Linked DNA regions of Homo sapiens: all the other regions are linked to region 4. Evidence: promoter capture Hi-C in 16 types of primary human blood cells and fetal thymus (Javierre and others, 2016). All regions are on one chromosome and are shown on one strand. Each heading gives the region's core, a stretch centred on a gene start or on the middle of the fragment in contact. The rest is flanking DNA. Distances are from core to core; before and after follow the strand shown. Region 1 overlaps ATF7-NPFF (ATF7-NPFF readthrough). Region 2 holds the start of TNS2 (tensin 2). Region 3 holds the start of AMHR2 (anti-Mullerian hormone receptor type 2). Region 4 holds the start of PFDN5 (prefoldin subunit 5). Region 5 overlaps ATF7-NPFF (ATF7-NPFF readthrough). Region 6 overlaps SPRYD3 (SPRY domain containing 3). Region 7 overlaps PCBP2 (poly(rC) binding protein 2).

Region 1 (4,026 bases), core at 789-3,288, 230 kb before region 4:
AGCTGTAGTCCCAGCACTTTGGGAGGCCAAGGCAGGTCAAGAGTTCGAGACCAGCCTGACCAATATGGTGAAACCCGTCTCTACTAAAAATACAAAAAAAATTAGCCAGGCGTGGTGGCTCACGCCTGTAATCCCAGCACTTTGGGAGGCCGAGGTGGGCGGATCACAAGGTCAGGAGTTCGAGACCAGACTGACCAACATGGTGAAACCCCATCTCTACTAAAAAAAATACAAAAATTAGCCAGGCGTGGTGGCGCACGCCTGTAATCCCAGCTACTCAGGAGGCCGAGGCATGAGAATCGCTTGAACCCGGGAGGCGGAGGTTGCGGTGAGCCGAGATCGCACCATTGCACTCCAGCCTGGGCAACAAGAGTGAAACTCCGTCTTAAATAAATAACTAAATAAATAATATTAGAGACAGGGTCTCACTATGTTGCCCAGGCTGGTCATGAGTTACTGTACCTGAAGCCAGTCCTGAACATGGTAAAGCATGTCCAGCTTCCTCTTTTTATATATATATAATTTTAAAAGAGATGGAGACTCGCCATGTTGCCCAGGCTAGTCTCATACTCCTGGACTCAAGCAGTCCTCCCGCCTCAGCCTCCCAAAGTGCTGCGATTATAGGCCCTAGCCACCATGCCCAGCCCCAGCTTCCTTTTTAATCAACACTGATTCCTTTCCTTGTCGTTCTTCCCGTTTCTCTTGGCCTAGTCTTTCACCTCCATTCCCTGCATGACTTACTGAAATGCCTATGACAGAATAGGAACCTTTCCTTTCCCCTATTCTCCTAAAGAACTAATTTTTTCTTTTCTTTTGTTTTCTTTTCTTTTCTTTTTTTTTTAAGATGGAGTCTCGCTCTGTCACCCAGGCTAGAGTGCAGTGGCACGATCTCGGCTCACTGCAACCTCCGCCTCCCTGGTTCAAGCGATTTTCCTGCCTCAGCCTCCTGAGTAGCTGGGATTACAGGCAACCACTATCATGCCCAGCTAATTTTTGTATTTTCAGTAGAGACGGGGTTTCACCATGTTGGCCAGGCTGGTCTCGAACTCCTGACCTCAGGTGATCCACTCGCCTCAGCCTCCCAAAGTGCTGGGATTACAGGCGTGAGCCACCACACCCAGCCAATTTTTTGTATTTTAGTAGAGACGGGGTTTCACCGTGTTGCCCAGGCTGGTCTCAAACTCCTGAGGTCCGGCAATCCACCCGCCTTGGCCTCCCAAAGTGCTGGGATTACAGGCATGAACTACTGCACCTGGCCATAAAGGACTAATCTTTACATGTGCTCCAGTCAGCTAAAGATAAAGAGGAAGCCGAAATTCTCAGGAGAATTACTGTAAATTTCTTATACAATGAGAAACAGTGAACCAAGGCCTCTAGTTCATTAAATTGAGTTGGAAATTTCTTCTCCATTTTTTTATTTTGGGAGAGATAATATTAGTCTGAATTTTAAAAAATTATTTCTTGGCCGGGCAGGGTGGCTCACATCTGTAATCCCAGCACTTTGGGAGGCTGAGGCGGGTGGATCCCAAGGTTAGGAGATCAAGACCATCCTGGCTAACACGGTGAAACCCTGTCTCTACTAAAAATATAAAAAATTAGCCAGGCATGGTGGCAGGCGCCTGTAGTCCCAGCTACTCAGGAGACTGAGGCAGGAGAATTGCTTGAACCTGGGAGGTGGAGGTTACAGTGAGCCAAGATTGCACCACTGCACTCCAGCCTGGGTGACACAGCAAGACTCCATCTCAAAAAAAAATCATTTCTTAATTATCTATATTAATGGAGAATATAATTCAGTAGGGCCTAGAGTAGAGTACAAGATTCTTTTTTTTTTGTCAGAGTCTCACTCTGTCACTCTGGCTGGAGTGCAGTGGTGTGATCTTGGCTCACTGCAACCTCCATCCTGGTCTAAGCCATGCCTCCACCTCCCAAGTAGCCAGGATTACAGGTGTGCACCACCACGCCCAGCTGATTTTTATATTTTTAGTAGAGGTGGGATTTCACCATGTTGGCCAGGCTAGTCTTGAACTCATGGCCTCAAGTGACCACCTGCCTCGGCCTCCCAAAGTGTTGGGATTACAGGCATGAACCACCATGCCCAGCATCTTTTTTTTATTTGTTTTTGAGTCAGGTTCTTGCTCTGTTGCCCAGGCTGGAGTGCAATGGGACAGTCATGGCTCACTTGCAGCCTCAACCTTCTGGGCTCAAATGATCCTCCCACTAGAGCCTCCTAAGAAGCTGGAATGACAGGAATGCATCACCATGCCCAGCTAATTTTATTTATTTGTAGAAACGGATCTCACTATGTTGCCCAGACTGGTCTCTAACTCCTGGGCTCCAGTGATCCTCCCAACCTCGGCCTCCCAAAGTGCTGGGATTACAGGCATAAGCCACTGCGCCTGGCCTCACATGTAACTTTTTAATTTTTTTATTTTATTTTATTTTTTTGAGACAGGGTCTCGCTCTGTTGCCCAGGCTGGAGTGCAGTGGCGCAATCTCGGCTCACTGCAACCTCCACCTCCCAGGTTCAACCGATTCTCCTGCCTCAGCCTCCCGAGTAGCTGGAATTACAGGCATGCGCCACCATGCCCAGCTAATTTTTGTATTTTTAGTAGAGACGGGGTTTCACCATGTTGGCCAGGCTGGTCTTGAACTTCTGACCTCAGGTGATCCACCCGCCTTGGCCTCCCAAAGTGCTGGGATTACAGGCGTGAGCCACGGCGCCCGGCCCAACTTTTTTATTTTTTACTTTTTTAGAGACCGAGTGTTGCTCTGTCGCCCAGGCTGGAGTAGAGTGGTGCAATCTCAGCTCACTGCAACCTCCCCCTGCCAGGTTCAAGCAATTCTTCTATCTCAGCCTCCCAAGTAGCTGGGATTACAGGCGCCTGCCACCACACCTGGCTAATTTTTGTATTTTTAGTAGAGACGGGGTTTTGCCATGTTGGCCAGGCTGGTCTCGAACTCCTGACCTCAGGTGATCCACCTGCCTCGGCCTCCCAAAGTATTGGGATTACCAGAAGCCATCCTAATATTACCAGAAGCCATCCCAAAGTATTAGGATGACCAGAAGCCATCCTAATAACATAGAGTTGTTTTAACACACATTTTGTATGTTATATGTATTATCTACTGTATTCCTACAATAAAGGATGCTAGAGAAAAGAAAATATTAAGAAAATCATAAGGAAGAGACAATATATTTACTATTCATTAAAATAGAAGTGGAGTATCATAAAAGTCTTCATCCTCCTCATCATCTTCGCATTGAGGAGGAGGAGGAGGAGGAGGAGGGCTTGGTCTTGCTGTCTCAGGGGTAGCAGAAGCAGAAGAGGTGGAGAAGTTGGAAGGGGGGCCGGAGAAGCAGGTACACTTGGTATAACTTTTTTTTTTTTTTTTTTGAGACCGAGTTTCACTCTTGTTATCCAGGCTGGAGTGCAGTGGCTCAATCTCAGCTCACTGCACCCTCTACCTCAGGTTCAAGCAATTCTCCTGCCTCAGCCTCCCAAGTAGCTGGGATTACAGGCATGCGCCACCATGCCTGGCTAACTTTATATTTTTAGTAGAGATGGGGTTTCTCCATGTTGGTCAGGCTGATATCAAACTCCCGATCTCAAGTGATCCGCCTGCCTCAGCCTCCCAAAGTGCTGGGATTACAGGCATGAGCCACCATGCCCAGCTGGTCGGTATAACTTATTTTTTTAAATCTGCATGTAAGTGGACCTTTGCAGCTCAAGCCTGTGTTCAAGGCTGAACTTTTTTCTACAGATGGTTGACCTTTCTACATTTTAAGAAATTTTTGGCTTCTATTATAAAATTGGTCTTTCTTCTCCAAGTGCATCCCAACTAACAGAAAGGGATGATCCAAAAATGCTTTAGTGACAAGGAACTTCAGCTTGAACTTTAAAAACAAGACAGTCCTATATCACCAATTTGTAAAGGGATTAAACATTTTTTGTTTATAAACAAAAGGGGGTTCTTCAGTATGATTAATAACTGATTATAAATAAAAATAATACACTTATCTATATC
Region 2 (3,828 bases), core at 1,055-3,554, 250 kb after region 4:
AACCAGACCCTGGGACTTCCAAGATCCCACCTGGACTGGGCTGGCTGGGGCAGAGGAGCAGGGCTAGGTTTTGAGGGAAGAGTGTGGCAGTGGGGTACTACTGCCCAGGCCAGGGGTAACGTTCCAGGGTGGGTGGAGGTGAGGAGGAAGAGAGGGAAGGAAGACTACCGTCACAAGTCAGGATGGGAAGGTGATGGAGAGTACTGGCTCTCCTGGGTTATGGGAGGTGTCTGTCATGGGGAGCCAGGGCCATCTGAAGGGGGAGGCAGCTGCTTCTTAGCTGCCATTGTGCCTAATCCAGGAGCAGCATATTACATTTGAGATTGTGTGAGCTGGCCTGCTGGAGTTGTGCAACACAGTGGTACTGGGTGGAGGGTCTCAGAGTCACAGGACAGAGAGCCTCACCTCTGCACGAAACGCCTGTCCCATCGATGGTCACCTTACATACTGCACAGACTGGAGGTTTCTTCCGGAAAACCTTCTCCCGGAAGCTATGAGGCTCAGCTTTCCTAGGCTGAAGGTGGAGGGACAAACAGAGGTGTGAGTTCCCAGTGGGCCCATCTCCATCTCCGGGACTGGGCAGGAGCCTTGCCTTAGCACTGCACTGGTTTTCTCCGTCCAGATCAAGCCCTCAAACTTGTAGGACGCACTTGGCCACAGCTGCTTCAGGGCGGTCATGGGGCCTGTCCTCAACTGTGCATGGAATCTGACCCCTTGCGTCACCTTTGCTGGGTCAGCTCCTCCCCAGGGGATCACTTGGGCCCCTCACATGGCCCTGGTGTGTGATGCCCTTGTGGAAAAGCCTCCATGCTCAGGCTTTCCCCCTGGTGTGGTAAGGGTACTCCCTGACTCTTCCCATCTTGTCCTCCCCGCATGGAGACCTGTGTGCAGAGTGAGCAGGGAGGTTCCAAACATATGTGTTGTATGTCAGTCCTGCAGCACCAGACTGAGCCGGCAGGAGTGGCCTCAGCCAGTCCTGCTCCTTTAGCTCCTGCTGTCCCCACGCTCCAGGCAGCTGACATGCCCTCCTCCCCCACGGTCAGAACAACATGTTTACTCATTGTGCACTGAGGCAGCAGACAGCAATTGTGTAATGGGGGTGGTCATGCTGGAGGGAAACAGATAGAAGCCTGTCACTGGGGAGAGATGTTTAGCTGGCTTTGGATGCTGTGAGTTCTCCCCCGACCCCCTGCACCCTGGCACTTGGGATTCACGCATTGAATGAGAAAGGAGTGGACCAGATTCCCTGTTCAGCCCCTCCTGACCCAGAGATGCAGTGAGGCAGGAGCCTGGGATGCCCCCTTATGGCCCAGGCCTATCTCAGTCCCTTCCCCTCCCACTGTGGGTTCTCTCCTCCCATCCTCTGTCTGGGGACAGCTTGTCTCCTTGCCATCTCTCTGTTTTACCCATATTCCCCCTCCTCTGGAGTTCAGACTCCTGCTGTCCTCCTCCCGGGGACCCATCACAGTAGTATCTCAGGTTGTCCTGAGCTGCTGCTTTTGGGGCAAGGCTGGGAAGTTGGGAAAGGGAGTGATGGGGATGTGGGCAGCACCTCTGGTTTCTTGACTGTCCCTGCAACTCTTCTGGGCTGGATCAACTTTGTGGGACCCACTAAGACACTTGGGAGCATGTTGGCATTAGCAGCAGATATGGATGTTGTCAGTGGAAAGCAAACCTCCAGTTCCAAAGCACTCCTGACTCCCTCTCCTCTCTCTTTTTCCACCCTGCCACCCCATTTCCCTCAAACTTCCCTGGGCCAGGGAAGGGGCCTGATGATCTCTGAGCCTGCTGGAGGATACCTGGATAGCGCATGGCAAAGTCCTGCAGTGAGGCACCTGGGGCTTATGTTGGGGGGCCAGGACCTCCTGGGGTTGGCCCAGGCTAGAGCAGGGAAGGTGAGAGGAGCCAAAACAGACAGCAGGACCTACTCTAACCCAAACATCCCCTCACACTACAGCCCTGGCCACTCCGGAGGGGATGCTGGGCCAGGGAAGAAGGCTGAGGAAGCTGAAATTGGGAAGAAGGCCTGGCCTGATTCCTGGTCCCCTCCCCCACTGCCCGCACCTCCACCCCTGCCCCTCTTTTGCCCAGCTGGTGGGCACTCCTACCCTGCTTGCGGCCCGGCTGCTGTCCCTCCTCCCCAGGGCTCTGAGCAGCCTCTCCACAGGGCCGCTGGACTTCATGGTGTTCGGCTGGCTGGGGTGCTGGCCCCAGGGCCTGAACAATGCTGGGGCCTGGCCCGGGGCTTCCTGGAAGCGGCCTGGCGGAGGCAGCCGCTTCCCCTGGGCGGAGGGTAGGCTGTCTGGCTGGTGTGAGGAGAAGCCCGGCCCTGGAAGTGGAGGGAAGTGCAGGCGGGAAGGGGGCAGGTCGCTGCTCCAGGAAGTGGAGGGGGGAGGATGTGGGGGAGGCCAGGAGATCAGATTCCCAGGATCTACCCTGCTGGGAGTGTCAGCCTGTGATCTTTTGCTCCCCCTACTCCCCCAACTCTGGAGTTGTCCCACACCTGGGACACCACACTCTCCAGGGATCTGCAGGGATCCATGGTCTTGAGATTCTGCCCCCACCCCCGGTGGGGCCGGGTGAGAATTCTGGTCTCGGGGCAGGGCTAAAGGGCAAGTGGGGAACAGTGTGTCCCAGCCAGGCTCCAGCCTGAACTCTCAAGCTCTCGAGGGACTTCCGCTGGGGAGGGAGTGGAGCTGGGAACTACTACCAGCAGGCAGGCCCAGGATCCCGAGTGTGTCCTGAGAGTCAGGTAAAAATGGGACTGGGGGCCCCCTTCCTGTCTCAGTTTCACTCGTTATGAAGTAGGAAAAGGAAAGCATGCACCGCCCACCTTTACCCTCAATACACCTTGCAAGGCCAAGTTCCAGCCACAAGACTGCTTTGCTCAGGTTTGGGGAGTAATCCATTCTCCTGCCACAGCCTAAGGCATATGAGGCCCTTCTCCTGAAAGCCCCCAGGTTTCTGCTCCTGACACAGTGCCCCCCACTCACCCATTCCCTGGCTTTGTTTCAGACATGATCTCACAGATCCCTAGCCCTCTTTCCAGCCCTGCAACTTGGGCTCTCTACCCAAGGGCTGCACCCTCCCCCCGCGGCAACCCCGAAGCCTGAGTACTACCTTCATGGCTCTCCTGGGTCTGCTCTCCTTCCTCAGCAGCTGTCCCAGGGCCTGAGGACTGGACAGGAGGTCCCCCCTCCCAACACATACTCCACCCCCATCCATGGGCCTCCGGCCTCCCTCCTGGGAACATGGCCAACTTCCCGTCCTGGGAGTCAAGGGAGGGAGGTGGATGGGGCCTTGAAAAAGGGGGAGTAATCTTCCTAAAAGCTAAGGGGTTAATGGCCTGGGAGTCTTCAGCCCCAAGCTGTGGACAGCAGCCCCTGGGACAGGCTATAGCTGTCACTTGAAAGAATGTGCAAATGTGCCCCTCTCATTTGCATGGTATTTATTGAATGTCCCAGTACTCAGGCAACTCCCCCAGCCCTGGCTTCTCCCACGGAGTCCCTTCTACTTGCTTCCTGCTCCTTCATATCCACCAGGATGGGTTCCCTGGGATGAAGAATCCTGCATTCTCTGGGGTGAGGCCTGCTGTGGGTGCCCACTTGAGACCCTTGCGAGGACCTGACTGGATTGGGCCTAGCCTGACACCTCTCCCTGGAAGCTCCAATTTTCCAGGCCAAGAAATGTGTCCCCAGGATATCCTGGCCAGAAGGTGGCATCTGTGTGGCAGGCCTGGGCTCCCTGCCTGTAACTGGAGAGGAGCACGGGCTCTGTGACCCACCCCCATCCTGCCAGCCTGGCTGTGTCCCAGCACATTCCAGGCCC
Region 3 (3,983 bases), core at 1-2,500, 130 kb before region 4:
TCCCCTCCTGAGAGCTTGCGTCTCAACCCACCCCCACCCTGGTCACAAGACCCCTTATCTCCCAGTCACCAGGGCAACCAACTTCCCAAGGCCAGGAGGAGGAAAGCGTGGGGCGGGAGTAGGGTGAGAACTGGCCCTGGTTCCACCTCTCATCCTAACCTGGGCCCCAGCCCCCATCAGGCTTCAGTACCCTTGGGTGGCTACCTGGGGCAGCCTGGGGACCCTGGGAGCCAGGAGTCCCAGGGCTCCCTGGAGGAGGCAGATGGCTGTAATTGGCATTGCAGAAGTCAGTGCCACAGGAGCAGGTGAAGAGAGTGGAGCCAGGGCTGGGGTGGGCTCGGGGACTTGGGTCACAGTGGAGGGACTCACAGCCTGGCTCATCACTGTCTCGGCATCCTGATGGGATGGGATTAGGGGAAGAGGAGAGAAAGGGGGGGCAAGGAAGAAAGCACAATGGGGTGTGGAAACAGAGGGTAAATCCCTTCTCTATCAGAGGCGTCCCTTCCAGCTCTCATGGGCTTTTCTTTCCCACCAGATGTTCTATTTCTCCCCTTCCCCCTTGGTTGCCACCCACACCCCAGGATGTGTCTGTCTCCCACCCTAGCCATCACCTGCCATATACTTTGCCATTCACCTTGCATTTCCACCTGTGCCCGGTCTTGGGTCAGGTTCCAGATCCCAAAGCAGCAGCGGCTGTAGAGGCAGCGGATAGCTCTGGGGAGCTCTGTGCCTGTATCTAGCAGCTCTCCCAGTGTCTTTGTGCTTCCCCGCACTCCAGGGGCCTCAAAGAACACACAGGTTCGCCTGTTTGGGGGTGCTGAGGCCCAGGGTGGGGAAAGGAAAAGATTCAAGGTGGGAGTGAATGCAGAGGCAAAAAACTGGCCAAAAGAATAGACAAAACATGTTCCACATCCCAGCGTCAGTATGGTAAAGCCACAGGAGGAAGCAGGGTCAGCAGAGGCCTGGAACCTGAGCCCTGCCATGGGGACACATGGCTCTATCCTTCACCCTTACTCACCCAGCCCACTCACCACTCTTCCAAAGGGGTGGCTCTTGCTTCAAGCGCCCCTTTCCCTTGCTGGATGGATGGAGAGACCCTTCCCCTCCCTGTAGACACTTACCTTCCACAGCTGTGGGAAGTAATGCCCAAAGCCCCAAAGACCCTAGCATCTTGCTGGAGGATGGCAGCAGCAGAAGGAGAAGAGCATAAGCCAGCACAGCTGCCCCTGGCCAAATCTTTCTTCAGATACAGGGCATCCTGGGGCTTCTGATCCCTCAGTCCCCAACTCCGCCCCCCTCATCCTATCCCAGCCTCTGTGGGGGAGAAGGCTGCTGTGGGGGAGAGGGTGGGTGTGGGGAAAGCAGGGAAAGAAAGGGAGGAGCAGAGAACCAATCTCATATCCTCTTCTCTTCTGCAACCTCCTCTTTGCTCTGCATAGTGAGAGGAGGGGAACTTGGAGGCCCAGCTGAGAACCCAGTGATGCCTAATTTCAAATCTTTGCCCTTCCCTGACCTTGGAAGAAGATGCTGGACTCTGTTGACTCTTCTCAGGAGGAAACCAATGTGAGGTCAAATGCTTAGAGCCATTCAGCTCTGCCCAAGATCCTTTCTAGCCTAAGATCTCTTTATATTCAGGGTTCATATCTGCAACTGCTTGGGCAGAGGAAGGCCTCACAGCCCATATTAGAGGTTACCTTGTTTTCCAACTTAAGAATCAGAAAGTATACAAAACTTACCTGAATTTTTAAAAAACACATTGAAAACAGTAACAATGGTAAATTTTGCTATGTGGATTTTTTTTTTTTTTTTTTTGAGACGGAGTCTCGCTCTTCTCCCCCAGGCTGGAGTGCAGTGGCACGATCGCAGCTCACTGCAACCTCCGCCTCCTGGGTTCAAGCTATTCTCCTGCCTCAGCCTCCTGAGTAGCTGGGATTACAGGCGCCTGCCACCACACCTGGCTAATTTTTGTATTTTTAGTAGAGACGGGGTTTCACCATGTCAGCCAGGCTAGTCTCGAACTCCTTACCTCAGGTGATTTGCCCGCCTCGGCCTCCCAAAGTGCTGGGATTATAGGCGTGAGCCACCATGCCTAGCCGTGGATTTTACTTAAAAAAAAAAAACACATTGGTTCACAGGCTGAACAAATACCCATTATTAAGGAGGTAACAAATTTCTTATCAAGCACCTACTATGTGCTGGGGCACAGCTAGGGCTATGCATTTTACAATCATCTCATCTAATTCTCCCCTGAAATATTTATTATTATTATTTTATTTATTTATTTTTTGAGACCGAGTGTCGCTCTGTCACCAGGCTAGAGTGCAGTGGTGCCATCTTGGCTCACTGCAACCTCTGACTCCCTGGTTCAAGCGATTCTCCTGCCTCAGCCTCCCGAGTAGCTGGGATTACAGGCACGCACCACCATGTCCAGCTAATTTTTGTATTTTTAGTAGAGACAGGGTTTCACCATGTTGGCCAGGATAGTCTCGATCTCGTGACCTCGTGATCTGCCCGCCTTGGCCTCCCAAAGTGCTGGGATTACAAGTGTGAGCCACTGTGCCTGGCCTATTATTTTTATTATTTCCATTTTATAGGTAAGAAAACTGAACTTACGTAAGTCGCCCAAAGTCATTCAGCTAGGAAATAGCAGAGCTGGAATTTGAACTTAGGCAGGTCTGACTCCAAAGTCCAGGTTCTAGTCTTATTTTTATTATTATTTTTGTACTTTTAGTAGAGACGGAGTTTCACCATGTTGGCCAGGATGGGGTCGATCTTTTTTTTTTTTTTTTTTTTTTTGAGATGGAGTCTTGCTCTGTCGCCCAGGCTGGAGTGCAGTAGCGCGATCTCGGCTCACTGCAAGCTCTGCCTCCCGGGTTAACGCCATTCTCCTGCCTCAGCCTCCCGAGCAGCTGGGACTACAGGCGGCCGCCACCACGCCCGGCTAATTTTTTGTATTTTTAGTAGAGACGGGTTTTCACCGTGTTAGCCAGGATGGTCTTGATCTCCTGACCTCGTGATCCGCCCGCCTCGGCCTCTCAAAGTGCTGAGATTACAGGCGTGAGCCACTGCGCCCGGCCGAAGGGGTCGATCTCTTAACCTCGTGATCCCTCCGCCTCGGCCGCCCAAAGTGCTGGGATTGCAGGCGTGAGCCACCGCACCCGGCCGGCTCTATTCTTTGTATTACACTATACTGCCTGAAAGACGTACAAAATTCAACAATGAAAAAAAATTACCACTTAATACTATACTTGGACATTTGAATTTAAATTGTTGAGAAAATATGCATCATTACCTGCCAACAGGCCACTAACTAAAAAGGGAGGGTACAGTTCAAACTATCACCACCAGAGGTCAGCAGAGGAGAAATTCCCTGCTGCGGTGAGAGGGCAGAAAGTACCTCCTCTGATGACTAATACATATAGTATACCTCCTACATTTACTAAGCTTCAGGGACTATAAAATGTGAAGGGCGGGCACAGGATGTGGAGAGTTTCAGCATGGAGTTGGGAGGAGAGGGCTATGGCTTGTTCTGCAGTAGAGACAGAGGAGTCCAACTCCACCAGACTCTTTCCCAGAGTAAGAAACAACAGAAATAGGTAATCACTTCCACACCTGTGAGCCACTGGCTCCTTGAGAATTAAGAGTCAGAGGGGACTTGTTCTCTGTTTCCCTAGCTTTCTGTCCCCCTAGTGGCTTCCTGGAAACCCTTTCTTGGAATGATCTGGCTTAGACCAGGGAGGACAGTCTGAGTACCGACATTTTTTTTTTTTTTTTTTTTTGAGACGGAGTCTCGCTCTGTCACCCAGGCTGGAGTGCAGTGGTGCGATCTCGGCTCACTGCAACCTCTGCCTACCGGGTTCAAGCGATTCTCCGGCCTCAGCTTCCTGAGTAGCTGGGACTACAGGCGCATACCACCACGCCCGGCTAATTTTTGTATTTTTAGTAGAGACGGGGTTTCGCCATGTTGGCCAGGCTGGTCTCAA
Region 4 (3,679 bases), core at 90-2,589:
TTAGCAAAGTGTAAACCACCAGCTTTATCTCCATATTAATGTTCTCAAACAGCAAAGGGAAATATTACATCTCAACTATACATACTCCTTGGTGTTCACAAGACATTAGCTGGATGTTGGTGTGAAGTCAGATAAAAGAGCTACAAAGTGTGTAATAAGAGTATTCTTGGCCGGGGGCAGTGGCTCACGCCTGTAATGTAATCCTAGCACTTTGGGAGGCCGAGGCAGGCGGATCACGAGGTCAGGAGTTCGAGACTAGCCTGGCCAATATGGTGAAACCCCCAACTCTACTATTAATACAAAAATTAGCCGGTCGTGGTGGCGCGTACCTAAAGTCCCAGCTACTCGGGAGACTGAGGCAGAAGAATCTCTTGAACTCGGGAGGCGGAGGTTGCAGTAAGCCAAGATCTCACCATTGCGCTCCAGCCTGGGCGACAGAGCGAAATTCCGTCTCAAAAAAGAAAGAAAAAAAAAAAGGGTATCCTCAAAATCATTGTGAGGAGAGGGTAATCTGAAGTAATCAAAACAATCCCCCTCCCCGCTTTTTGGGGGAGTGAAGGAGAAAGGGAGAAGGCAGCAGGTAGCCGTTCCTGTGGAAAGGATACAGAACTCGTCAGTGGGACGAGTAATTCTTTCCCTGTGAAAGCAATGAAGACAAACACCTGGGGAAGGTTAGCGGCTCCAACGTAAGACGTTAAAGAGAGTTCCAACAGGGCACAGCACCCACAGACAGTGTGAAAAGAACGGAAACAGGGGCAATAGGAGCAGAGGAATGTCCTGTACTTTTCAATTCTAGGCAGGCAACATGCAAAGGGTTCATGAAGCGGTATACGATATGTAATGGATTTTCTCGTTTCAGGTAAGAAAAACTGGGTTAGGAGGTGGGACGAGAGAAGCAGGTTCGCCACTTTAGGTTACCCTCACCCGCCTACCCCATACCCTCGTTGCTCTTGTTCAGCACGTTCAGACAGTCCTTGGCTTCCACATACTTGGTCTGTACCACTTTGAGCTGAGCAATGGACGTGGACAAGAACTCCACTTCCTACAGAGGACCGGGATAGCGGGTCAATGAGAGGACTAAGGGGAGAAAGGAGCGCGGCCGGGGAGGGGGCAGGTCCTGGGATCGGATAGAGGTTTCGCCTGGGAAAGGTAGGCTGCCAACTTGGAACCGGGCGCGAGAAGTACGCGTGGGCAAGGGGGATGTAGAGCAGGAAAGAGGTGCCTCTGGGGCCCGTCCCCACCTGGTCCAGCTGGTTCTTGAGCATTTCTAGCTGCGGCAGATTCAGCTCCGTGATGTTAATAGACTGCGCCATGTTGGGAAGGCCGACTTAACGAAGAGGAAGTCTCTCGGCGAGCAACGCTCTAGCCGTCCTCTGCGCGTCTCGGTGGCGCCGGGAGGCCTCGCTGCGCCAGACAGCTCTATGATCCTCCGTCCCGGAAGGGAAGGAGGGGCTTGAGCCTCTCAGAGACTGTTGTGTGAGTTCATTTCATAAAATGTCTTAAGCCTAGTATTGTAAAGTAGCAGCAAACAGGACTCCTGCCTACAAGGAACTGCAAAATCTTAAAGTTCTCACGACACAACCACGATATTACAAAGTAGTGTATGCTACTCCACGTGGGTGGTATAAGCTACTGGAAAGCAGGCTGGATTGCCATGGCGACGGCTCGGGGGCCTGGCCCTGCTCCTCTCCACCCCGCTTGCTATTGCTGCCTGCTGGTACCCCGCCAGGCCCGATTTCAAATGTTCCTCCCAGCACGGCATGGAAATGGCAGGGAAATTCTAAACTCTTTTTCCCAGATGGCCTCTGAGGCCGAAAGGCAGGAAAAAAAAAAAAATCCCTTGTCAGACCGTTCTGAATTGTCCTTGGAAAAAAACAGGCATTAGATTGAAAGCTTGTCGAAGGCAGGAACCAACCATGTTCTCATCACTGAACCAATTCTTCCCCTCTCGCTATAACCATCTTCCCCCAGCCGGAAGTAGGCTGACACGTAGTAGGATCTGAAAAAGGGTTTATCACCCGTTGCCAGTGAGGTGGTGGGAGAACAGCAAGGAAGCGCCATTGTCAACCAAGTACAGCACAAATTAATCAATAAAATATTTTGGCCGGGCATGGTGGCTCACGCCTGCAATCCCAGCACTTTGGGAGGCCGAGAAGGACAGATTGCTTGAGCCCAGGAGTTTGAGACCAGCTTGGGCAACACGGCGACACCCCGTCTCCACAAAAAATACAAAAATTAGCCGGGCTGGTGGCACACGCCTGTAGTCCCAGCTACATGGGAGGCTGAGGTGGGAGGATCGCTTGAGCTGGAGAGTTGAGGCTGCAGTAGGCTGTGATTGTGCACACTAGCAACAGAGCTAGACTCTGTCTCAAAAAAAAAAAGGTTTTACCATGTGCTGTATGTGAGGGATACGTGAGAGTGTAAGATACTTGCTTCCCTTGAGCTTAACAATTGGAGAGAAAAACCACACTAGAACTCCACAGATCCACAGACTCTACTGCTAAAGTTACACATTGGTAAGTGTAACAGGTGTACATGGGCAGACAGCAGTAGCCTTTAACATCTACTTAGGAGGCAGGCAGGGCAACTGAGGCATTAAAACTAGTGCCATGGCTGGGCGCGGTGGCTCACGCCTGTAATCCCAGCACTTTGGGAGGCTGAGGAGGGTGGATCACAAGGTCAGGAGTTCGAGACCAGCCTGGCCAATATGGTGAAACCCTGTCTCTACTAAAAATGCAAAAATTAGTGGGACGTGGCGGCATGTGCCTGTAGTTCCAGCTACTCAGGAGGCTGAGGCAGGAGAATCGCTTGAACCCAGCAGGCAGAGGTTGCAGTGAGCCGAGATTGCGCCACTGCACTCCAGCATGGGCAACAGAGCAAGACTCTGTCTCAAAAAAAAACAAAAACAAAAAACAAAACACTAGTGCCACTCCAAAGATACCTGCGGCAGGAAGACAGGACGGACGGATGGTACCTGGCCAAAACACTCTCAAAGGGTCTATCACTACCCTTCCTTGGGCCTGTCTCTACTTAGCATTTTGATGCCCCTTTCTCCTCCAGATTTGTCTGCTGAGGCCCAGCCAGGCCCAGCAGGCTTTGTCCTGTGTCTTTGCCTTTCTTCCCCAAGCACTCAAACTTGATCTGCTGTAACCTGTTCCTGTCAGCTTACAGTACCACATAGTAGGAAGGGGGCAGTCATGCCGTGTCTTTAAATGTTCTCAGATAAACTACGCAAAACAGGGTTTAAATGATGTATCTTTATTATACTGAGGTTAAATCAAAAGGAAATGTTTCATATAAAACACTGGGGAAAATCACTTTAAAAGAGTTATCCTAAGGATTAAATCTAACCTTGGAGGTAGAACAGTTATGAGGCTTCTAGCATCAATAAGACAGCTCCATGGGGTTACCGCAGAGAGACAGGCAAGCCATAGGCTATAGGTGCAGCCCCAATAAGATACTTGAGTCGGGGAGCTTGGCGGGCCTGGTTTACATAGTAGAGAAGGGGGGCCCCTGGGCCTGCTCCAAGCCAGCCTTGCAGCAGAGCTTCCGTGTAGCGGTCAATGTCGCGGTCAGTCACATCCCAGAGATTACCCAGAAACAAGGGGCTGGGAAAAGAAAAGGAGGAAATACAAAGTAAGGGCTCTAAAACAGAATACATAGGAAAACACCATTGGTG
Region 5 (4,088 bases), core at 841-3,340, 220 kb before region 4:
TTCTCTGTGTCTGTTTGTACACACAAATGTGCATACAGACATAAATTCCCCCACCCCATACCAAGGTGGTTACCTAGCAGGAATGAGCGTAGGTGGCTGCTGGCCACCATTACCACCGTCTGCATCAGCTGTGTTGTCTCTCTTTGGGGTAAAGTCCTACCCCAGAATGAGAAAAGGCTGGGGAGAGTAGGGCAGGTTAAAGGAGCTTATGTCCTCTGTAGATGTAGGTTTGTATCATAGCTACTAGGGTTTATTTTTTTAATGGGGGGCTAATAGCACAGAGTTATCTCACCAGCAGTAGCTACTGGTGAGTGATGTTTTAGCTGTAAGAAGTGGCTATGAGCAATAGTTTCACTGACTTTACCTTAGGGCAGTGCCACAGTAATCTGGGAACTTGTTAGAAATACACATTCTCAGGCCCCATCCCAGACTTATTGAATCACAGACTCTGGGGGCAGGGTTTAAAAGCACTCCAAGTGATTCTAATGCACACTAAAGGTTGAGAACCATTTCTTAGGGATAAGCTGGGAAATTTTTACAGGTGTGGAGGATATTTCAAATACATCTTTTGCCTTTGCACTAACATGCTTTCATTTCTTTCAGTCTCTTCCTCCATTCCCTTTAAAGTCTTCCCCATCATATCACTGATCTCAAAAGCTAGATTTGTCTTCATTTTAGTCGTATCCCTAAAACCATGCATTGGTCTGGACAGGAGTTGTCCCATATTCCCTTGCAGACTGGTCACTCCATGTTCTCTGTTACAGTAAGGACCAGCCAAGCTTCAGCTGTCCCATTCCTCCCCCTACAACACACACACCTTTCAGGCAGGGAGGAGATGAGCTTCCAGCCCCAAGAGTGGAGGCTGCCACATCCTAACATAGTATCTATTGAAAAGGAAGCAGTGTGTATCTATGATTATATCTCTGTTCATCTATATATTTTTGACATGTAGCAACACCTCTCCATCTTATCAAGGAACTCAACTCGGTCTGGGTCTCCCCAGTGCCCAGTGGTGGCCTTTGACAGGTAGGAGGATGCAGTGCTGCAGGCTATTTTGTTTTTTGTTACAAAACTGTCTTTTCCCTTTTCCCCTCCACCTGATTCAGCATGATCCCTGTGAGCTGGTTCTCACAATCTCCTGGGACTGGGCTGAGGCAGGGGCTTCGCTCTATTCTCCCTAACCATACTGTCTTCCTTTCCCCCTTGCCACTTAGCAGTTATCCCCCCAGCTATGCCTTCTCCCTCCCTCCCTTGCCCTGGCATATATTGTGCCTTATTTATGCTGCAAATATAACATTAAACTATCAAGTGAACCACTGTTATGTCTGATGCTTCACTCCTCTATCCACAGCCCCCATTGTCCCCTTTTCTGGGAGGTCACTGGCCTTTCATGTCTGTCATCTTCATCACTCCCCCATTTCTTAGGACAGAAGGAACAGGGATTTTTGTCTCTAGTTTTTATACATGGGAGATACAGCCTAGAGAAAGTGGATGATTTCTATAAATTACAAAGTATGACAGAAGGCCCAGGGCAGAGCTCCTGTGGACTGCCTTGGAGACAAGGGCCCTTGGCATCCTGGCAGCAAGTACTCACAGGAAACTTAGTATGTGCTTTATGTGGATGGCGGGTGGGAGAGTTGCTGATGGCAAATGGCCTTTTACTTTTCAGTGTTTTGTTGCCAACCCCCACCCAACCATTAAAAAGTGGCTGTTGTGACCAGGGAGCACACACACAGACAAAGACGGAAAGTATAGCTTTCTATGGTAAGGAGGAGGCTGGTCTGGAAATGAGGGGTAGAGTTTACTTAGAAGCAGGTAAGAAAACCGGGCATGGTGGCTCATGCCTGTAATCCCAGCACTTTGGGAGGCTGAGGCGGGTTGATCACCTGAGGTCAGGAGTTTGAGACCAGCCTGGCCAACATGGAGAAACCCCGTCTCTACTAAAAATACAAAAATTAGCCAGGTGTTGGTGGCGGGCGCCTGTAATCCCAGCTACTCAGGAGGCTGAGGCAGGAGAATCACTTGAACCTGGGAGGCAGAGGTTGCAGTAAGCTAAGATCGTGCCGTTGCACTCCAGCCTGGGCAACAAGAGTGAAACTCCATCTCAAAAAAAGCAGGTAAGAGTTCACAAGAAAAACAGGTAATGCTCAGAGACTGTGGGAATCAGGAAGAGGTGTAGGGAAATCACAGATAATTTATTGCATCTGTATATTCCTTTATAAATAACATCACAAATGAGAACAATGAGCCAGGCTGAAGAATTTGACAAAAGAGATAGCAGGTGTCTCTGGAGTTTCCCAGTAGGAGAGAAATGACTTAAGAAGCTATCTGTGGCTGGTGTTTGGTAGACACTTGACACAAATAGCCTGTGCCTCCTGAGGAGAGCAGGAAAGGCAGTGGTGGTCTTCACTGTGTTGTGGCCAGGAGCACATGGGTGTCCAGAGAAGGGTAAGAAAGGAAATTGCTGAAAGCCAAATACCAAAGCCCAGATTATGAGGTTTTGGAGGTTCCCACCACTGAAGCTGCACTCTGAAAACTGGGCAGTTTACAAAATTAGAGGAATCAACCCATTCCAACTTCAAAGGAGACCAGTTACCTCCATCCTGGACACAGGAAGCCAGCTAAACCAGCCTCTTTCTGAATGCAGCTCAGCCCAGAGCCACTTGTAATTGATGTTTAGAGAAATACTAGAAGCAGCAGGATGGTAAACATGGAATGGCTGCCCTATGCTACGTGGAATGGTAGATTGCTTTACTGTTCACCTAGTGATAACAGGAGTAGTCACTTCATTTTATTGATGATAAATTGAGGTTTAGCCAAGTCACACAGTGAAGTGCAAGAGCTAGGATTACAACTGAGTTCTGTCTGGCCCAGAACCAGCTCTGCAGTGTCCCATCCACCCTCACACCGCTGCTCCTCTGGACCTCTGTCACACAGGAGCAGACAAGGATCATTCTGGGATGCAGCAGCTACTGCCCACAGAAAAGCCATCTCCCCGTGGCCTTGATACTCCCTTTTAAGAAGTGGTAAACTGGCCGGGTGCAATGGCTCATGCCTGTAATCCCAAAACTTTGGGAGTCCCAGGCGGGCGGATCACCTGAGGTCGGGAGTTCAAGACCAGCCTGACCAACATGGAGAAACCCCATCTCTACTAAAAATACAAAACTAGCCAGGCGCGGTGGTGCATGCCTGTAATCCCAGCTACTCGGGAGGTTGAGGCAGGAGAATCACTTGAACCTGGGAGGCAGATGTTGTGGTGAGCCGAGATCAAGCCATTGCACTCCAGCCTGGGCAACAAGAGCAAAACTCCGTCTCAAAAAAAAAAAAAAGATAAAACTACAAGATACCATGATGATGAATGTCAGGTTTTGTGGTTGGGACCAACCATGAGACAAAGCTTACGAAAAGGTTTACCCTGGCTTAGTCCGCATTAACAGAAATATGGTATCTGGAGCATCCAGATCCAAACCTGCTCTAATCTACGTGTCTAAAGGATAAGTTGGTTCCTAGATGCCTTGCCTTAAAGAGTGGGGTGCTTCCCCTTGAGCAAAAAAGACTATGGAGTGGGCCAGGTGCGGTGGCTCACGCCTGTAATCCCAACACTTTGGGATGCCAAGGTGGGTGGATTGCTTGAGGTCAGGAGTTCAAGACCAGCCTGGCCAACATGGTGAAACCCCATCTCTACTAAAAATACAAAAATTAGCCGGGCATAGTGGTGTGTGCCTGTAATCCCAGCTACTTGGGAGGCTGAGGCAGGAGAATCGCCTGAACCCGGGAGGCAGAGGGGTTGCGGTGAGCCGAGATCGCACCACTGCACTCCAGCCTGGGTGACAGAGCCAGACTCCATCGTAAAAAAAAAAAAAAAAAAGCTGGAGTGTAAGAATGAACTCTCTCTTCAAAAATATGAAGAGCTTTTACACATGAAAGAGATGAGATGTTCTGTTGAGACTTAATGGAGCAAACTAAGACCCCGAGTAGAAGTCACAGGAAGCCCAAAGCCCCCTCGGCACAAGGATAAATATGTCCGAAGACTGTCTGAGGAGATGGTAAGTTCCCCGACTGGGGCACATGAGGCAATCACAGCTAAC
Region 6 (4,045 bases), core at 1,191-3,690, 220 kb after region 4:
GGATTAGATCTAGTGAAGAGTGGCTGTTTCAGAGATAGTTGATTTCCTGTTTGGGGAAGGGCCATTCTATAGTGTACCCTGTCCACCAACTCCTGTATTTCCAGCCCCTTAGCTTGTGTGTGTTTCCTCCCTCTTTTCTGGCTTGAACCCCTTCCCTGACTCCTTCTGAGCCCATGCTCTCACAGAGTTCCACTGAAGGGGGAAGAAAGTAGTACTGTTTAACTAGAGGCAAGAAAGCTGAGGAGTGGGAACTGAATCACTGTCTTCCAATCGATGAAGGGCTTTGGTAAAGAGGATAGAGACCAGCCATTATTCTCCAGCTCCACTGAGGACAGAGCCAGAGGAAAAGGGCTGAAGCTGCAGCATGAGAGATTGAGGTTACACAGGGTTGTGAGACCTCTCTTAGGCAAGTAAGGGAGGCTCTACATTCTTTTCCTCCTGGAAATGAAGAAACCAGGCTTGCACTGGTCTGGTACGGGTTGGATTCCAGCTGGAGGCTGCGAGAGGAGTAGGGTGAGGTGACCTTAAGTATCTGGTTCTGATGTCTGCCGATGTACTGAAGTGCAGCCTGATGGATTCTCCTGTGTGCTGGCCCTTGCAGGGTAAGGGTGGGAGAAGCTGAGGCCCTCCCCCTACTCTTGGGCTAGGCTGCTAATGGAATTCCCCCCTCATTCCTCCTTCAGTTATCATGGAAACTCTGGTGAAGTTGGCTGCTACGTGGCTTCTCGACCCCTGACCAAGGACAGCAATTATTTTGAGGTGATCAAGGCAGTGGGTGGGCAGAGCAGGGGGTGAGCTTGGGGGTGAGATCATTAAGCCCCAAGAAGCTCCTTTACTAGATGTATGACCTGGGCCTTTTAATTTTCCATCAGGGCTGTCCTGTTGGCTGGGAAATAGGTGCAGGATAGCATGGCCCCTCATCTGAGAGATAGGTGCCCTGGAAACCTGTCACCCTGTCCCTTCTGCTCTCCTACCCCTTAGCTAGGTAGACTTTGACCCATATCCCAGACTTGACTCATGTCCCCTAACCCAAACCCACCATATAGGGACGTGAGTCCTATCTTTCTCCAAAGCTTTGGAGTAATTTTCTAAGTGAAATAGGCACCCACTCTCACCAATTGCCCCCTCTGAGTATCTTATCTTTTTTCCTGATTCCCATGTCCTTTTTCTTTTTGAGCCTCAGCGCCCTTTAATCTCTAAGTCCCCTTCCCCCACCCCCAGCAATTCATCCCATTTCCCAGCCCTGCTGACTGTGCCCTGCTTTCTTCTCTCCAGGTGTCTATTGTGGACAGTGGAGTCCGGGGCACCATTGCTGTGGGGCTGGTCCCTCAGTACTACAGCTTGGATCACCAGCCTGGCTGGTTGCCTGACTCTGTAGCCTACCATGCTGATGATGGCAAGTGAGTTGGCTCCTGTGCAACCCGGCCCTTTTCCTATGAATTTGGGAATCTTAGATCTGAAGAACTACCTTGGGCTGGCTTTTCCCATTGGGTGTTTCATAGACTTTTCTGGTCAGGACAGGGAAGTGGCCTGGCAGCACCCTTGAAGGCTTACAGACTAGAGGAGGGTGATGCTCACGCCAGGACGTAAGTGGGTACCATCACAGAATGACCAGGAGCAGCAAGATGAGGATGAGGCCTCTGCTGTCAGTGCTGGGGAGAAGTTGGGAGGCCAGGCTCGGGTCCTGTGTCTGTACTACTCTGTCTGTAGGCTGTACAATGGCCGAGCCAAGGGCCGCCAGTTTGGGTCAAAGTGCAACTCCGGGGACCGGATTGGCTGTGGCATTGAGCCTGTGTCCTTTGATGTGCAGACCGCCCAGATCTTCTTCACCAAAAATGGGAAGCGGGTGAGTGGGAAATAGTGGTGGGATTTACGTGGCTGAAATCTGCCCAAGGATTTGTGGGGAGTGATTAGGAAGAGTCTGCTGGCTGGGGCTTGCCCAGGGACCCTTGCACTGAGTTCCCATCTCCTCCAGTCCAGCCTCAGATTCTCCTGAAGTCTCTTGCGTGTAGGAGAAGATACTTCCCATGGCCAGAGGAAGCTGGGACATTGCCCAGATGACAGGCAGAGAGAGGCAAGTTAGTGGAGCAGAGGATGAGCAGGAATTGTGGGGAACAGAATTGGGTGATTTGGGGGAAGGTTTTGAGCAGATAAAAGAGAGGGGAAGATTATGGCCTGGCCATGTAAGCTGGAGGTCCTCTTTGGGTTTTGACTTGAGCACTTTTGGGGATATGTCCTTTCTGTGTCCTGTTTTCCTTGTTTCACGTCTCTTTCACTATCCTGTTCGTAGAGAGACTAGGCGTGGTGAGGAGATGGGACAGGAGCCAATAGTAGAGAGAGACACACAGCTCTCTCCCTTCTCTCCAACTCCATCTCCCACATTGGGAAATTGGTTTCTCAGGCCTTGGCCAAGGGGTCCTGCTGCCTTAGCATCTGCGCCTCGGCACTCTCCTGTCCAGCACACGTACTGAAAGTATTTGGCAGCAAGTCAGGAGACTTGTGTTTGTCTTCTAGCTCTGTACATACCTTGCTTAGCCAGGAGTACTTAGCACATTTGGAAACTTTTCTGCACCTCTGGGTTGCTTTTTTTTTTTTAATCTGTCAGTGTGTGTGATAATTATTGGTTGCATCATCTTTTTTTTTTTTTTTTTGAAATGGAGTCTCGCTCTGTCCCCCAGGCTGGAGTGCAGTGGCACCATCTCGGCTCACTGCAAGCTCCGCCTCCCGGGTTCACGCCATTCTCCTGCCTCAGCCTCCCGAGTAGCTGGGACTACAGGCGCCCGCCACCACGCCCGGCTAATTTTTTGTATTTTTAGTAGAGACGGGGTTTCACCGTGTTAGCCAGGATGGTTTCAATCTCCTGACCTTGTGATCCGCCCACCTCGGCCTCCCAAAGTGCTGGGATTACAGGCGTGAGCCACCACGCCCGGCTGGTTGCATCATCTTAAAAGTACCCTTGTGAGAATTAGGTGAGCTATGGAAAAGCAGGCCGGGTGGCAGCTCCGTCTTTCCCCCCACTGCAGGTGGGCTCTACCATCATGCCCATGTCCCCAGATGGACTGTTCCCAGCAGTGGGCATGCACTCCCTGGGTGAGGAGGTGCGGCTGCACCTCAACGCTGAGCTGGGCCGTGAGGACGACAGCGTCATGATGGTGGACAGTTACGAGGATGAATGGGGCCGGCTACATGATGTCAGAGTCTGTGGGACTGTAAGTAGCGGGTGGGAGGGTGGGAGGGGCTGGGTCGGAGGAGGCTGGGCAGAACACCTGTGGGCACATGGTCATGTCTGAATTGCTGGGAATGGGGAGTCGGGACAGTGTCCGTGTGGGGTTTGGCAAGATAGCCTAGGCTCTTGACATGAGTCCTTGAGTCCAGATCTGTGTTTTCTTTAGCACATGTTCTCTTTTCTTCACTTCCTCCTCTTCAGGGAACTCAGGTTCGCAGTTTGACCCTGGGAACAAGTAGTTCTGCTTTGCCTTTTTTGGTTCCTTCAGCTTCTGGTGTCTTCTACAGCCCTGCACAACTGCCTTTGAGGGGCTGGGGGTTGATCTGGAGGCAAAATGCCTGGCCCAGGCTTTTCATTCAAAGTGTTGTGGGGCAGGTGTGGTCAGAAGTCCACACATGTGGTGGAAGGTTCTTAGCCATCTTTTTTGAGGAAGTGTCAATGTCAGTTTCTATTGTCTTATCCCTGCATTTGATAGAGGATTAGAATGGAGGCAGATAAAGATTCAGTGAGCATCCTTACACCTCCAAACTTGCTTCATTTATCTTTTCCTCATACCTGCTTTAGTATGGATTTTAAGCTTCGTTGGGAAGCGTGTGGAGCTTGAGAAAGGGGAATTCTTCCTCCCCGGATTTTAAGTTTTGTTGGAAAATTCATGAACCTTGAGAAAGGAAAATTCTTCCTGTCTGCCTCAATACACTGTGCTGCATTGGGAGTGAATGGACGCCAAGTCCGGGATCTGGCCCTGACCTCTAGTGGGCTGCTCAGCCCTCCCACTTCGAATTGTCCCTCTCCTACCCCCTTGCTCCTGGCCTGGCCTTT
Region 7 (3,886 bases), core at 490-2,989, 180 kb before region 4:
AAAACATGATTGGTAATTCACCATCTGTATCCCTTCCACAACAATGCAAAGCCAAAAGCTGGGTAGAAAAGCAAGGGCCAAAAAACTGCAAAGTCCTTCGACTACAAACTATTTACTTTTAGTCAGAAATGGTTTCTCCACCTCAGTATTAAGGGAATATTTAGGGTTTTTTTTTTTTTTTTTTTTTTTTTTTTTGAGACAGAGTCTTGCTTTGTCACCCAGGCTGGAGTACAGTGGCGCGGTCTCGGCTCACTGCAAGCTCCGCCTCCCAGGTTCACGCCATTCTCCTGCCTCAGCCTCCCGAGTTGCTGGGACTACAGGCGCCCACCACCATGCCCAGCTAATTTTTTTATGTTTTTAGTAGAGTCGGGGTTTCACTGTGTTAGCCAGGATGGTCTTGATCTCCTGACCTCGTGATCCACCCGCCTCGGCCTCCCAAAGTGCTGGGATTACAGGCGTGAGCCACCGTGCCCGGCAGGGGATATTTAGTTCTTAAAAGGGGGGTAGATTCGTGCCAATTTCAAAACACAATGATCTAAGGAAAGGTAAACAATAGCCCTGGATTAAAGGGTTCAGTAAGAACTGAAGGTCTAAGAAAGGAACTGCTAGATACCATTAGATCTAGGACCTGAAAATTTAAGTTCATAAAAATTGGTGGTAGCACTCTGGCCCCACCAGAGCTCTGAAAGAAATGTTCTGAATGTGTATCAAGCCCGAATGGGGATTTGCTGGGGTGGGGGAGGTGACGCAGGGAGAAGGGGATGCTATGAAATACTGAGTCAGGTACTCTAGGATAAAAGACCACATGGGGGAGCTCTAGGGTTTAAAAAAATTTAAAACTGAGGCCCTTTGGAGGTAGTGATGGTAGCTAGACCCTTAAACATGTGGAATCCTTCCTTGGGGAATAGCCATTAGGTTAAGAGGCCTTCCAATCAAGAACTAGATAAAACCACATCCCTGGGGGGAGATGGTATCAGCATGATTAAGTCCTAACTACAGGAGGAGCAAGCTTACCAAGGGAGAGAGCTGGACCACATGATAAAGGAGCAACTAAATAAAACTCCTTACTGGACAGGTTTGGCCATCTAATCCTTTATGCATACTTGAGACGTGTAACACTTCTTCACAGGCCCAATCTGGGATGGAGGGGCCAAAATAACATCAAAGAATGAGATAATATATTGGAATACTAACAGCTTTTTTTTTTTTGTCAGCCAATGGTGATGCTGGGAAAAGGTCATCAGGGAAACTATCTCTACACTGAGTTCTCTAATGCCCTGGGAAGAGCATTACACTTTCAGCACTGTGGCAACGTGTACTCTCGTTGAATGGAAGGCTATCAGAGGCCTTATACCACCATACTAAGAACATTTCTACTGTTTTATGAGAGGCCTGTGCCCATCTTAGTATAAGAAAATGAACAAGATTTCAGGGAGGTTAGTACGATTGAGTAAAAGTAAAGCTTAAGTTGTTAGTCCTGGCTAGTCACTCATAACCTATGAATTTAAATTATCTTAGGGCCTCTATTTTTTAATCTGTAAAATGAGGGGATCAATGTGTTACAGATTAGTTGATCCTTAAGGTTCCTTCCAAATCTAAGCATGTCACTTCCTACTCCTGATAGTGCTGGTGGGGAGCAGAAAGGATACGGCCAGGAATAGAAAAAAGGGTAAAGAAACTTGGTTGACAGAGTTGGTTTAGGACTAGTGGATGGCATCATGTCAAGTTGTGGATAATGTCACGGGTTGGCTGAGATATACCTAATGTCACAGAAAGAGGCATAATGCTAATTCAGAGGAATGCAGACAGAAGCTGCCTAATTTTATTAGACTTATCCCACTTTGCCCCTCCCCTTCATTCTGGGTAAAGAAGTATGTTCTTTGAATGTATGACTTGGAAGAGATCCTCATGGTAACCATTCACCAGAGGAATCCTGGGATGAACACCTTGTTAGCTGCTGCTGGCAAGGTAAGGCCATCTGAGAAGTCAGATAAACTTCCTCACTAGTGAAGCTTGTTGCCAATTACAGAGGACCTTCAGGATCTAAACTGCCACAGACTCGTTATCTCTTTGTGGAAATATTGACAAACGACTATAAAATTCACTTGGGATTCAAAAAGCCCATGTCAGTTATACAGGCTTCCTAGCTGAATAGCCACAAGTCACAAGCCCCCAACCCTTTACCCTTCACAGCACACAGTGTACTAAGGTTCTTACTGCGCCAACTTTATTACAGCTAGAAACACAAATATGGCCAAGAAGGCCTGCTGATAGCTTAACCATTAAATAATTCTTAAAAAAAAAAAAAAAAGTTAACGAAGCAGCTTTTATTCATTAACACAGAGCCTAACACATTGTTATATTGCAAGGCAGAATAAAGCTACAAAGAAAAGTAACAAACAAGAAAGAAGAGAAAACTGTGGCTCTAGATAAAGAATTCAAGTCAGACCCTGAAACAGGCACTCAGCTGAAATGGCCTAAACCTAAACAAGGGTTACCACTCCCCCACCCCCACCCAGTTATCCCCCAAAGTAGTAAAAAGGAAACGGTAACAAGCTCACAATAGTTTCATTCTCACCAATGTTAACAAAGGAAAACAAAATGAACAAAATAATACTGGAGGAGGTGCCTCAAGGTATGCAATCAGTAGGGAGAGAATCTCTGTTTCTCGCCTTTCAGTTTGTTAGTTACACATGGCACGGCAGAGGTGGTGGTGGTGGTAGCTGAAGCCCCGGTACCCTTAGCAGCAGACACAACATTTAGAGCCAGGAGAGGGATGGGTTTCATGCCAAGCAGACTGGAGACACAAGGGGCGGTCGGAAGAGGGTTGGGGAGGCTGGAGGGTGCGTCGGAGGTCCCCGCTGTGGCGAGCGAGGGGGTGGTGGTGGAGGAGGAAGAAGAAGAAGGGGTGGAGGGTTGAGAGAGGTTGATGCTGAGGTGATCAGGGATCGTGACGGAGGCTGCCTGGGAGGAGGGTTTAGCGTTTTCTAAACTGTAACAGAGGAAAAAAGGAACAAAAAAAAAGGGTGGGTGGAAGGGAAGACCACAAAAGGGAGTAAGTACAGGACAAAAACTGCTTCAGTTATATCAGTAAGTGCCTCTGGTTGACAATTAGGAAGACCTAGTGTCAACTTGTGACAAGCTTTCTTTTAGCCTATGTCCCACCCTCTAAATATGTATATTTCCATTCCACAGAGCTACTTAAAAACTGCTATGGTGAAGAAAAAGCTGACAGAGAAAAGAAATCATAGGGCACATACTTCATGTATCTGACACACTGACCCAACCCAGATGTTGAAGGAATGATTTCGGGTAGAAAAAGATACTCATCAATCACCCAACAAGGAAGAAATGTTTCCTCTAATCAAATGTCAATTTCCTATTCTAACAGAAAATCAATTATCCCACAATTACTTGTGAAGCTTTGAATATTTATAAAGCAGAATTTTTAAAAATCCTTCCAGCTATGTATTAAAGTCTGCTTACATCTCCACAGCAAACAAACCAGTATCAGGGTGGAAAGAGACAAGAGTCCAAAGTAGGTCACTGACTAATTTCAAATTTCAAAGAATGTAGCGTTTTCAAAGAAAAATGCTGAGAACAGAAGTGTAGATAAGAACTAGGGAAGCTTTTCTGGTGGGAGGTGGTATAAAAAGTTGTTTCTGACTGATCATACTTCTAATGTGGACCTTTCAGAAGTGGAAAAGAGAAACTCAAGTATCACCTAAAAATTCATACTTAAGCGAAAATGCTGCTGCTTCCACTCCCAAAATAAGCTCCACAGAACAGTAAGGGTACATGTCTCCCAAATGCCTGTATGTGTCTAAGCCAGAACTACATATATTTGGGAAGTGTGCCTGGACAATTGAGCCCACAACGCTAAGTC

The links. Contacts are between HindIII fragments. The CHiCAGO score rates a contact against its expected background, and 5 or more counts as called.
Region 1: a contact is called between a fragment that was not itself captured here and the fragment with the promoter of PFDN5 in region 4, in 1 of 17 cell types (erythroblasts). The highest score is 6.5, in erythroblasts.
Region 2: the fragment with the promoter of TNS2 here is called in contact with the fragment with the promoter of PFDN5 in region 4 in 9 of 17 cell types (total CD8 T cells, naive B cells, activated CD4 T cells and 6 more); the score reaches 8.2 in total CD8 T cells.
Region 3: a contact is called between the fragment with the promoter of AMHR2 here and the fragment with the promoter of PFDN5 in region 4, in 10 of 17 cell types (naive B cells, total B cells, erythroblasts and 7 more). The highest score is 9.0, in naive B cells.
Region 5: a contact is called between a fragment that was not itself captured here and the fragment with the promoter of PFDN5 in region 4, in 6 of 17 cell types (erythroblasts, total B cells, megakaryocytes and 3 more). The highest score is 7.7, in erythroblasts.
Region 6: a contact is called between a fragment that was not itself captured here and the fragment with the promoter of PFDN5 in region 4, in 10 of 17 cell types (endothelial precursors, megakaryocytes, fetal thymus and 7 more). The highest score is 9.2, in endothelial precursors.
Region 7: a fragment that was not itself captured here is called in contact with the fragment with the promoter of PFDN5 in region 4 in 7 of 17 cell types (erythroblasts, activated CD4 T cells, megakaryocytes and 4 more); the score reaches 14.0 in erythroblasts.

Annotation. Positions count from the first base shown.
Region 1 is chr12:53,525,578-53,529,603 of GRCh38, reverse strand. All of the region lies in intron 9 of ATF7-NPFF (ATF7-NPFF readthrough), which reads left to right. The region is part of intron 9 of ATF7 (activating transcription factor 7); the gene reads left to right. Among named protein-coding and RNA genes, the nearest start is that of ATF7-AS1, 14 kb to the right of the region's middle. The HindIII fragment of the contact is 5,319 bases long and covers 1-4,026 here.
Region 2 is chr12:53,048,541-53,052,368 of GRCh38, reverse strand. It overlaps TNS2 (tensin 2), which reads right to left and starts at 2,304. Exons shown (of 29, transcript NM_170754.4): 1 at 2,109-2,304; 2 at 406-514. The coding sequence starts at 2,183. The region is part of intron 2 of TNS2-AS1 (TNS2 antisense RNA 1); the gene reads left to right. RefSeq lists an enhancer at 3,300-3,828. The HindIII fragment of the contact is 14,276 bases long and covers 1-3,828 here.
Region 3 is chr12:53,421,122-53,425,104 of GRCh38, reverse strand. AMHR2 (anti-Mullerian hormone receptor type 2) reads right to left here and starts at 1,250. Exons shown (of 11, transcript NM_020547.3): 1 at 1,122-1,250; 2 at 635-817; 3 at 205-396. The coding sequence starts at 1,170. RefSeq lists a cis regulatory region at 3,163-3,681 and an enhancer at 3,366-3,932. The HindIII fragment of the contact is 5,088 bases long and covers 1-3,446 here.
Region 4 is chr12:53,293,202-53,296,880 of GRCh38, reverse strand. It overlaps PFDN5 (prefoldin subunit 5), which reads right to left and starts at 1,339. Exons shown (of 6, transcript NM_002624.4): 1 at 1,242-1,339; 2 at 940-1,042; 3 at 606-637. The coding sequence starts at 1,313. ESPL1 (extra spindle pole bodies like 1, separase) reads right to left here. Exons shown (of 31, transcript NM_012291.5): 31 at 3,243-3,608. The coding sequence ends at 3,407. RefSeq lists enhancers at 432-1,631, 1,117-1,656. The HindIII fragment of the contact is 3,517 bases long and covers 1-1,895 here.
Region 5 is chr12:53,509,284-53,513,371 of GRCh38, reverse strand. The region is part of intron 12 of ATF7-NPFF (ATF7-NPFF readthrough); the gene reads left to right. It overlaps ATF7 (activating transcription factor 7), which reads left to right. Exons shown (of 12, transcript NM_006856.3): 12 at 1-1,318. Among named protein-coding and RNA genes, the nearest start is that of ATF7-AS1, 2.7 kb to the left of the region's middle. The HindIII fragment of the contact is 2,618 bases long and covers 782-3,399 here.
Region 6 is chr12:53,072,450-53,076,494 of GRCh38, reverse strand. It overlaps SPRYD3 (SPRY domain containing 3), which reads left to right. Exons shown (of 11, transcript NM_032840.3): 3 at 684-759; 4 at 1,276-1,400; 5 at 1,711-1,846; 6 at 3,024-3,209. Among named protein-coding and RNA genes, the nearest start is that of SPRYD3, 4.9 kb to the left of the region's middle. RefSeq lists enhancers at 3,612-4,045, 3,936-4,045. The HindIII fragment of the contact is 2,730 bases long and covers 1,076-3,805 here.
Region 7 is chr12:53,473,975-53,477,860 of GRCh38, reverse strand. The region is part of intron 14 of PCBP2 (poly(rC) binding protein 2); the gene reads right to left. Among named protein-coding and RNA genes, the nearest start is that of PCBP2-OT1, 11 kb to the right of the region's middle. The HindIII fragment of the contact is 550 bases long and covers 1,465-2,014 here.